Linked DNA regions of Homo sapiens: region 2 is linked to region 1. Evidence: promoter capture Hi-C in 16 types of primary human blood cells and fetal thymus (Javierre and others, 2016). All regions are on one chromosome and are shown on one strand. The core of a region is centred on a gene start or on the middle of the fragment in contact, and the rest is flanking DNA. Distances in the headings are between cores, read along the strand shown.

The links. The method cuts DNA at HindIII sites, captures the fragments that hold promoters and counts their contacts. A CHiCAGO score of 5 or more calls a contact.
Region 2: the fragment with the promoter of ITGBL1 here is called in contact with the fragment with the promoter of TPP2 in region 1 in 1 of 17 cell types (endothelial precursors); the score reaches 8.0 in endothelial precursors.

The regions. Positions count from the first base shown.
Region 1 is chr13:102,593,986-102,599,078 of GRCh38, forward strand. TPP2 (tripeptidyl peptidase 2) reads left to right here and starts at 3,001. Exons shown (of 30, transcript NM_001330588.2): 1 at 3,001-3,218. The coding sequence starts at 3,054. It overlaps LOC107984588 (a long non-coding RNA gene), which reads right to left and starts at 2,957. Exons shown (of 2, transcript XR_001749984.3): 1 at 2,463-2,957; 2 at 1-416. RefSeq lists enhancers at 2,435-2,594, 2,645-2,704 and silencers at 2,775-3,064, 3,225-3,514. The HindIII fragment of the contact is 7,622 bases long and covers 1-5,093 here.
Region 2 is chr13:101,449,624-101,455,047 of GRCh38, forward strand. ITGBL1 (integrin subunit beta like 1) reads left to right here and starts at 3,052. Exons shown (of 11, transcript NM_004791.3): 1 at 3,052-3,308; 2 at 4,260-4,477. The coding sequence starts at 3,211. RefSeq lists enhancers at 97-1,296, 2,630-3,134. The HindIII fragment of the contact is 2,431 bases long and covers 858-3,288 here.

The sequences.
Region 1 (5,093 bases), core at 1,751-4,250:
AAAATTAATATATTTTTATTGCAGATGATGATACATTATCAATATGCCTTTCCATTATAAATGCAAATTACAATGAGAAAAAATTCCATATAGAATGGAAATAAAGTTTCCAGAAGAAATAGTGATATAAAATGTCTGCTTTTAAGTGTTCAGATATTTTATAAATAGTTGATGGTAGCTATCAGAGTTACACTCAACTGGGTATATTTACATGAGAAACGTGAAAGTTTCATTAAATAATGACGATATTTATACTATGCCAGAAATTACATCCTTTATAATTTTTAAAATTTATGATAGGCCGGGCGCAGTGATTCACGCTTGTAATGCCAGCACTTTGGGGGGCCGAGGCGGGTGGATCACCTGAGGTCGGGAGTTCGAGACCAGTCTGACATCAACATGGAGAAACCCCGTATCTATTTAAAAAAATACAAACATTAGCTGGGTGTGGTGGCACATGCCTGTAATCCCAGCTACTTGGGAGGCTGAGGCAGGAGAATCACTTGAACCCCGGGAGGTGGAGGTTGCAGTGAGCCGAGATCCCGCCATTGCACTCCAGCCTGGGCAAGAAGAGCAAAACTCCATCTCAAAAAAAAAAAAAAAAATTGTGACAAATTTAGACTTCATTTTACAGCTGTACAAAGGGATACATAACTTTTTTAAAAACATGTTTATGGGATATGTAAGCAAAAAAAGAAAAATCTGGCCGGGTGCAGTGGCTGATGCCTGTAATCTGAGCACCTTGGGAGGCCGAGGTGGGTGGATCCCCTAAGGTCAGGAGTTCAAGACCAGCCTGGCCAACATGGCGAAACCCCGTCTCTACTAAAAATACAAAAACTAGCCAGGTGTGGTGGCATGCACCTGTAATCCCAGCTACTCGGGAGGCTGAGGCAGGAGAACTGCTTGAACCCGGGAGGCGGAGGTTACAGTTACCCGAGATTGTGACATTGCACTCCAGCCTGGGCCACAGAGTGAGACTCTGTGTCAAAAAAGAAAAAGAAAAGGAAAGGAAAAGAAAAATCTAAAGAACATTGTTACGGCAGTCTAATAAAAAGTCTGCCACCTAGGTTTCATAATAAACTGTTCATTCCCCATTTATTCATTGGGTGATACTCTGGCAAAGTCATGCACATGGTGTGGTAGAACATACTGGGGAGAGATTGTGAGAAGACAAATCCCGTGTTTTCATCAACCTGTTTTGTAATCCATGACAGTCAGTTAACTTTGTTTCTTCATCTATAAAATGAAGTGATTGGACTATGGTTCACTTGAAACTGGGAGCCATTCTGTTCTATCACTATAAGCTCTATACTGAATGTCTTCTGCGAGTTTGTTATTCTGTTTTCGTCTGTGTTAATTTGAAATTCTTTTCTAGAGGTAATGTAAACAGTTGGGAATAAGAAGAAAAACATTCAACTTTTCTTTTTCCTCTGCACTAAAGAGAACATGCTTGTGTAAGACTTATGGACTGAATAAATGATCAAGGAATCAGCTGAAACCATTGCACAGCCATAAGAATAATTTTTGAGACTTAATGGAGGATCTCTGAAATTCTGTGGGTTGGAAACCGCATGCATAAGGCTTTCCTTTATACCAGGTATTCTTAACTTGGTGTCCATAGACAGAATCCAAGGGGTTCAAAAACTTCCGTAGAAAAAAGATACAAACCTCTTAATTTTTTTCACATCAAGTATGAATGTAGGCAAAAACCAGGGTAGTTATGCTGTTATGTCACCAATAAAAATCAGTTCATCGTAGTGCAGTTTTCACCGCTATCTCCAAATAATTATATTCTTCACTATTTTGAAGTTATGGTAGTTTATTAGCCTTGGCCCTAGCTCCTGTTATTTAATGCAAAAGAAGTACACCTGTAACTATACACACACACGTAAAGCTCCTGCTATATAACAAAATTGCCTTTAGTATTTTTGATAACTGCATTTAAACATAATTTATTTCCTGGGTAATCCTATCTATTTCATTGTATGCATTTTAAAACACTGCTTGAGAAATAGGCCTCACCAGATTGCCAAAGGGGTCTTCGGCACAATAAAAGGCTAAGATTACCCTGGCATGAGCATAGACATAAAGATCATTAGAGGACCACTATGCAGCTTGCAGCAACTGACGGCAGGCACTGTGAATCTGGAAAACTGAAAATTATGGCTCTATAATTGAGTGGACAGCCGTAAGGAGCAATCAGAAACTTCAGTGTAAGAGGAAAAAAAAAGATGTTTTTCAGAAATCCCGGAAGCTAAGGATCAGCAGAGGATAGGAGGGGCCCATTTCAGTCTCGTGCTTTGTTACTGGCTACAAAGGCGACGGAATGACCAACAACCCACTTCCTGTTGACTGAAACTATTGCCTGTCTCCACCCTATTGCTCCCCCTCACCACCTCACCCCCATCAAAGGGGCATAACAACACAGGGGAACCCAAAGTCTACACCCCTTAACCTACGACCTTCCAAAATCATGTCCGGAGCTTTCGCCGACACCGCAGACTCCTTAGCGGCTAAGCGTGAGTGCGCCGGCTCCCTTGCCTCGGGTCAGCAGCACCCCGGGGCTGGGGCTCCTGCAGCAGCCGCACCAAAAAGTTTCATCCACAACCTTAAGTTTGGAAACTATCGTTTGCCAAGCGAAGGGTTCCCATTATTCCTGGCTGGCGGTCCATCTCCTTGCCCGTCTCTCGGGGAGTGATTCGGTCCGGGACACCAGGACTCTGCTTGGAGGCCTGCTGTTGCCTAAAAACCCCAAGCGCGGGCCTCTTCAAGGCCCCAGGTTCGAGATCCGAACCCTCCAGTAATGTCCTCAGACTCCTCCCCCTTCACTGCAGCCCGGGCAATACTCGGGCCTAGCTCCTGAGAGCGGCGCCGTTGGCTTACGTAGCAGCACGTGATTGGCCACCGCTCCCTGGCAGGCCGGGATTGGTGGAAGACGGGCCGACCCCGCCCCTCGCCCCCGCCTCCGGCCCGAGGCCGCACGGGTGTCCTCGCGCTGCTAGTCCGCGCGCAGCCTGGCAGTTTGCCGCTTCCTCGTCCTCCATCCTGCGTCCATGGCCACCGCTGCGACTGAGGAGCCCTTCCCTTTTCACGGTCTCCTGCCGAAGAAGGAGACCGGAGCCGCCTCCTTCCTCTGCCGCTACCCGGAGTATGATGGGCGGGGGGTGCTCATCGCAGTCCTGGACACGGGGGTCGACCCGGGGGCTCCGGGCATGCAGGTGAGGCGGCCCCCGAGGGCCCGGGCGCGGGGGCGCGGGCGGCCGGGGACGCGGGTGGGGACACAGTCTCGGAGCCCGGCAGGCCAAAGCCCCGCTCTGCGGCCGAGTCCGGGCCGGGGTGGGCAGCACCGGGGTGGGCAGAGGTCAGAGCCAGGCGCGGGAGGGACGGGCGCCCGCCAAGGGGACTCAACGGCGCACAGTGCCAGGGTCGCTGGGCGGGCGAGGGCCCGGACCCCAGGTTGGGCCGTGGTCCCCCCAGCTCAACAAAAGCAGCGTGCCCGGCGCGGCTGCCTGGGGAAGCCTGGGTCCCCCTTTGGCCCCAGGGACTCCCCTTCCTTCTCGCTTCGGCGCTGCCAGGCCGGACCCCCCAGGCTCCTTCCCTCCACGCCGCCTTCCTCTGCCTACCCCTCGTGCCTCGGACACCGGTCCCAGCCTGACGTTTTTAAAGAGAATTTTACAGCTTTTATCATTGGGGTGGGGTGGAGACACCAGATAGGCAACTGACATGTGAGAACTTAATGTTTAGGGATCGGGAGATTTGGTTTGGGGAAGAATAGTTTGTCTTTAAGCACGAAAGCTGGGTTTCCAGAAGATAACCCAGTCCTCTTCCGGAATTGTTTCCTGTGGTAGTTTTGTGTATTCTATTTTTAAACGGTCTTCTGCAGCGTGTTTGCTTAGGGTCATTGAATCTTGTGGCTTAGTCTTCGTTTACATAAGGAGAATTCAGTTAGGTTTGGTTTTGGCGAGCTTCTCAGACCTTATGAAAATATGCGACTTTTTTTTTTTTAAACCTGAAAACATACGACGGTTTTTAAAAATTACTTAGTTTTTTGCCTTAGGCAACTTTAAAATCTGTAGATTCAAGGTATCATACCAGAAGGTAGTTTTTTTGAAAGTATGTTGTCTCTCGTTAAAAGCATTCTGTTTAAAGTCTTTAAAGTTTAACTTTTGTACTTTTAACCCTTTACTGAAATCCAGTAATAAAATTTCACCGTTATTCAAGATCCATCTCCCAGCATCCCTGACTAATCCTACTGTATGCTGATCTCTCGTTGATCAGCCCCTGGCTATCTTATCCTCCTTTCTACACTAAACACTCATCCTCCTCCCCACAATGTCCCTTCCCTTCTGGATCCTTTATCGTGCTTTCTGATTATTGAGGTAGCATTTTGGAAGTAACGAGGGGGAGTCTGGCCGAATCTGCTTAGAAACCCCTGGGAATCTTGATTCCTGGTGTGTGTTCTTCAGCACCACTCTGGAGTACAGCACATCTTTTGTGAATCAGAAGAGGATCAGGTACTGAATTCCCTCCCGGTAACTGGAGTTATATAGTTGTCGTTGTATTAATAACTTAAAGACTTAGAACAATGACAGCTATCAACTCATTTGGGGCTTTATTACAAAGTAATAATGCTTTTCATTCAGCTGTGGAGTGTGTTTACTTTTTATAGGATGAGTGGGAGGAAAACAGCTGGGATAAGTGGTTCACCGGTTCTTTTGTCAGGATAATAAGAGGGTCAGAAAAGTTTGGAGAAGTGCTGCTTGGTAGAATTTGTTGGTAGAATTTCCAGATCTGTTTCTCACATTATTCTGTTACTCTCTCTAAAGTAACAATAATTTTCACCCCACAGCCTTGTTGTGAAAATTGATTATAAGAGGACTGGCTAATTACATGTGACTTTTTTAAATGCTCAAGAAAAATATTAAACTATTTTGGCAATGATATTTATTCTTTTTTGTATATATAATTTCAACTTTTATTTTAGATTCAGAAGGTAGAAGTACAGGTTTGTTACATGGGGGTATTGCCTGATGTTAAGGTTTGGGGTGTGATTGATCCTGTCACCCAGGTAGTGAGCGTGGTACCCAGTAGGT
Region 2 (5,424 bases), core at 1,802-4,301, 1.1 Mb before region 1:
GTGGCTAGAATATTATTTTAAATGTCTTCTTAGAGTAGACCTGGAACCAAGGGGTGAAACCTTCAAAGCAATTCTCAGAAAAGGATGTGGTCCTCTTAATTTTTGTTTTTTTACCAAGGCCACCTAATTACTTGGCAAATATACGGTATGTTATCAACAAATTTAGTTTTGAACTAGACAACCTTTAAAAAATACCTTGAAGGCTGAAATTCTCTGATTGTGTAACCTGAGGACTGAAGGACTCCATTCAAGGACTAGGGTGTTTTCAATCTTTTTGAATTCAGTTCCAGATGCACCCGGTCCTTTCAGGCACCCTTCATTATGCATCCAACCTACTGCTGTGTCCCCAGCCAGCAGAAGTGAGAAACTCAGGACCTTTCTTGGCACATGTGCGTCCTTGAGGTTCTGAAAACTGGGAAAATGGAAGGAGTAGGTGTTTCCAAGGCATTCAATACTTTGGTTAAAAAAAAAAAAAAAGAATGCTAAAAGGCATAAATTTAAAGTTACCCTTTGATTTTGACAGAGTTTCTGTGGATCCAAGACTTTCGACTGAGTCACCAAGTCAGCCACAATATAACTATTTCAACTGACTGGGAATATTATTTCTGAGTCATAGTAATGTAATGATCTGAACATTTATATTCTCTCAGTTACCTAGTACATACTAACTTCATTTCAAAGGTGAATAATATATTAAAGAGAATATTGCTTATTGAATACTACACTGTATGAAAATACTACAGGTTAAAAAATCACTTAAATCCATTAAAAATGTTCAAATATCAAGTCCCTATTTCATAATAAATTTTCCCTCAGAAAATATGCAAGGAGTAAACAATACATGACTCATTTATTAAAGCTTCCATGTTTTTATTGCAAATTCCTAGTTGGGCTTTGGAATAGATACTTCCCTTCTATCATTACCACATTCTCTGAGTCACTAGGTTTCTAGATGTTGACAGGAAAGCCTGTTCCTATGTCCTTGTACTATCACACGTGGGCAGGATAAAATGTAACTCTAGAATTTGTACTAAAGGTGGGTGGAAATTCCACTCTTAGATCCAGGCACCCTCAGGCGTCAGCCCTGAGCCCTGTGCTTTGCAAACTTCTCAAGCTATTATTATGTAAAAATAGATATCTTGGGATATTATTCAAATGCACTCTGTGATTCCTTAGAGCTGGGGTTGGGGCCTGAGAAGTTGCATTTCCATAAGTTCCCAAATGATGCTGATGTTGCTGCAGGTCCATGGACCACGCTTTAAGAACAACTGACTTAGTAATTCCCATTCTGTCTCTTTTAGACAGGCCCTTCCCCCACAGGCTGCAGTTCATGTGACTTAGGGAACCTGCCAACTCAGAACCTGTGTCCTTTTTTCCTAAGCCGCACTTTGGTTATCCAAGACCCCAGAATTACCTGTCCAGACAGCCTCCCAAAACTGTGCATACCTGTCCCCAGTCTGTCCTTGCAATAGAAGACTCCACCAGTGTGTACACACCTGTATCTAAGTGTGGCCAGAAAATCAGCTATTTGAAAAAGGTTAAATTGTGTGGGTAGGGGTTGGGGGGTGGGGGGACACACAGATGGGCCTCATGCAAAACCTCCCCTATTACAGGGTGGAGATTGGGGTAGAAACAGAAATGTACTATGATTAGAGGACCTTCATCGTCTTCTTGCTCCAGCAGGCTAGTGTTGTGGTGGTCTTACCCTTATACCTACTTATATATAAAGGACAGGGAGAAATCCCATCCTATTATGGCTCATCCCTGATTTTAAGGATCTGGGACCACAGATGATTCTTGGATGGTTCTATTTCATGAGGAAGGATTGCATGTACAGTGCTCTTCTTAGGGTGAATGAAAAATGTTTTCCCCCTTCCATATAACCCTCTACACATTTTCCCAGATGACCATAAATGTAGGGGATAGTGTATGCACTTTGGATTTCAGCTGAAATACGACTAACTTCCTCTGTGAATTTGAGCAAGTCAGTTGACCTCTTTGCCCTCAGTTTCTTTATCTTTAAAATGGGAGTAAGAATGTCTCCCTGTTCTCTTCCATCTCCTTCTTATTTCTACCCAATTTAATTCAATACTTTTTTCAGTTTTTTGTTCAGATGCTACCATCTTTGATTAGATCAAGTGCCTGTATCTCATCTGGAAGTAACTTCTCACTGCACTTGCAACCCTTTGTTCTTTTTTTTTGTGGTTTTGTGTTGATTAATGTCTTTCTAGCTCATTGGACTCTGAGAGAGCAGGGATCATGTCTCCTTAGTTCTCTGTTATATTCATTCTGTCTTGCACAAAACCTGGCACCTGATAGATGCTAAATCCCCATTTGCTAATGCATAAATAAATGTGTGATTATTGTCATAATTAGAGAAAACATACTAAATGACTGGCACATAGTAGGTGCTTAGTAAATGACACCAATTGTTTTTCAGTGCAATTTGTGCTATAAATAAACATTTAATTTTCTTTTCTCACATTTGATATATGGGGAGAATGGGGTGAATTTGAGACAACTACAATTTAAACTGTCCAAGTCACCAACAAATTGTGGTGTGATAAGCTACTGGCCTAAACAGCTGGAAGCATGACACGCTTTTTAAAGACTAAAGAAATGAAATATCCAGTTTAAATCAAAGGATAATAAATGCAAGAAAAAGTTGTGTTTGTCAGATTTCCTTGCCCCGGCCCCAACCCAAACTCCAAAGAGTGCATCTACTTTAAAAGCGTGTGGTGAAAGTAATTCCCTACCCAAGTGTTCCCACTACTGTCACTGGCCTCACCCTTCTCCACAACTCAGGGATTATTTTAAAGGTTTCTTTAATATCGGCCAGTCCAAATATTCTCTTGTCAAATATTTCTGTGGCCCGTACTTGAAATCTGTGAACAGGACACTTTTTTTTTTTTTAATGTCAAAATAAACCATCTGCTTGTACAACTGTTTCTAATTACTTCCCTGCCTAGACTCTCCACTGAGGGGTTTGGCACCAGCACCCCGCCCAGAGCAGTGCCGCTGCCCAAATCCTCGCAGGCAGCTCATCAACGCAATTGCAACTCCGGCTGGAGCCCCGGACCTGCAAGCCTGGGTGTCCGTGGGTCCGTCTGCCCAGCCATCTGCTGGTGGCACCTCTCCCTCCTGCCGCCTCCCTCGGTGAACCCCACCTTGCAGAAGTGCAGCTCGCCCGGAGCAGCCCAGGAGCTCAGCATGCGTCCCCCAGGCTTCAGGAACTTCTTGCTGCTGGCGTCCTCCCTTCTCTTTGCTGGGTTGTCAGCTGTTCCTCAAAGCTTCTCGCCATCTCTGAGGTAAGTTTGGTTTGTTATTCTTCAGTACAGACCTGCCCTGCTTATGTGGCAGGGCTCAAGCTTGCAGGATGGCTGCCCTAAGCCAAGAGCTGTTATTAAATTGGACAAGGGATAAACTGTTTTCAACCTGTTCCTTTTCCTCTCCTTATATCTACAGCGTGTATTGCCTCATGTCTGTCCTTTTGCTTTTCCTTTGGAAAAATGCAATCATTGAATAAAAATATAATTTTCTTTTCTGCAAATACATATCAGGAGGAATTCCTGCTGTGAGTTAAAATGCTATGTGTACCAGTATCTTCTCACAACATGTAAAGCAGAATGATCTGTTTCCCAAGGGCAGCAACAGGAGGTCTGTGTTACATTTTGTATCATCCTGAAAGAGACTGAGTGAGGCACACTGCAATAGTGAAACTAAACTTTTTAAAAGTAGAGTTCCTAAAGACTGCTTAATGCAAATTATGCCCGATGCTATCATAGCATGTCTAACTCTTTCTATAGATTCACGTTTTCTCTTCTGTAATATAAGTGCCCATTGGCCATCAGATAGCAGTGGGACGTTTTTTAAAGGAGAACTGAAAAGTCAGCTGAGTGCCGTACCTTGGATTACTTTGTATTTAATCTAAATGTGCATATAAGATTTAGTGATAAACTACCAAAGAGCAGGGCAGTTCACCTCTGTCCACCTGGAGGAAGGACCTGTGTCCGGGGGCAGGTCACCCATTACACATTTTGGGCCCTGGTCATTTCTCTGGTGGGTGATACCTGTTTGCTTGGGAAAATACAGCCCTTCCAGGCAGCGCTTGGACCCCAGAGAGATGTGGGCCTCAGGCGTCCTGTTCTTGGGGTTGTACGTCTGCACCTGGAGGGGACACTGGGGAGGAAACGTGGGTTCGGAGCAGGGGGCGGCGTCCGCGTCTGACCCGGCCTGCCGGTTGCTTGTCGCCCGCGCAGGAGCTGGCCGGGCGCCGCCTGCAGGCTGTCCCGGGCCGAGTCGGAGCGACGCTGCCGCGCACCTGGGCAGCCCCCGGGGGCCGCGCTGTGCCACGGCCGGGGCCGCTGCGACTGCGGCGTCTGCATCTGCCACGTGACTGAGCCGGGCATGTTCTTCGGGCCCCTGTGTGAGTGCCATGAGTGGGTGTGCGAGACCTACGACGGGAGCACCTGTGCAGGTAAGAGGGCGGCGCTGTCTCCTCCCTCGGGAGGTCGAAACTCCTCTTCTGGGATTTCTGCCACTCCCTAGAAGAGTGAAGGGTGGGGACACGCCTCCCTTCACATAAGCACCAATTAAGTTACTGCGATTGTCACACTTTGGCTAGTTAATTCTGGCATCATTTATCACAACACTTTTATCCCCCAGGCTCTGAACTTGAATGGAAGTAAAGTTTTAAAAATTCATTCACTTAATTATATATTTTATTGTAATTATGATTTTTTAAAGTTGGGATCTTGCTATGTTGCCCTGGCTGGTCCCCCCCCCCCCCCCCAACTCCTGGAATCAAGCTATCCTCCCTCCTGAGCTTCCCAAAGTGTTGGGATTACAGGCGTGAGCCACTGCACCTGGCCGTCATTTGCTTAATTCTAAAATCTCACTTGCCTCTAAAGTTCCTCATTATAGACTAAATTCCCCAATGTCCTCACAAATGGAGTTATTTTACTGGGTTCTCCTATCCCTATCAAGAATGTTAATGATAATATTTGTAGATCTTAGGCCTGTATTTTATTTTACATAGGAAACAGTGGGAGGGGGAATGTATTATTTTCCTCCATTCTAGGGAGGCAGGTTTTGTCTTTGAAGCCTGATTTGCCCTCTCATTATTAGAATATAGTTCACAGGCAGGAGTGCATATCAGAAAACTGTAACAAGGAAAAAAGTAAACGGGCACATATTTACTTAGAATGACTGTTCTTGCATTGTTCTAGCTGCTTGAATTTTTGAGTTGCAATGAAACTTGGTATTTTCTGAGGGTGGAGTGAAAATACATTCATTTCCCTTGCACATTTTTAAGGAGTGATTCAGGTTCTGATATTGGAAAGGGTCAAAAAATTCCTTCCCAGAGAACACCCTTAACCTCTTTACCTGTGTCGTTTTACTTAAGGCCAAGAGCCTCAATTAGTG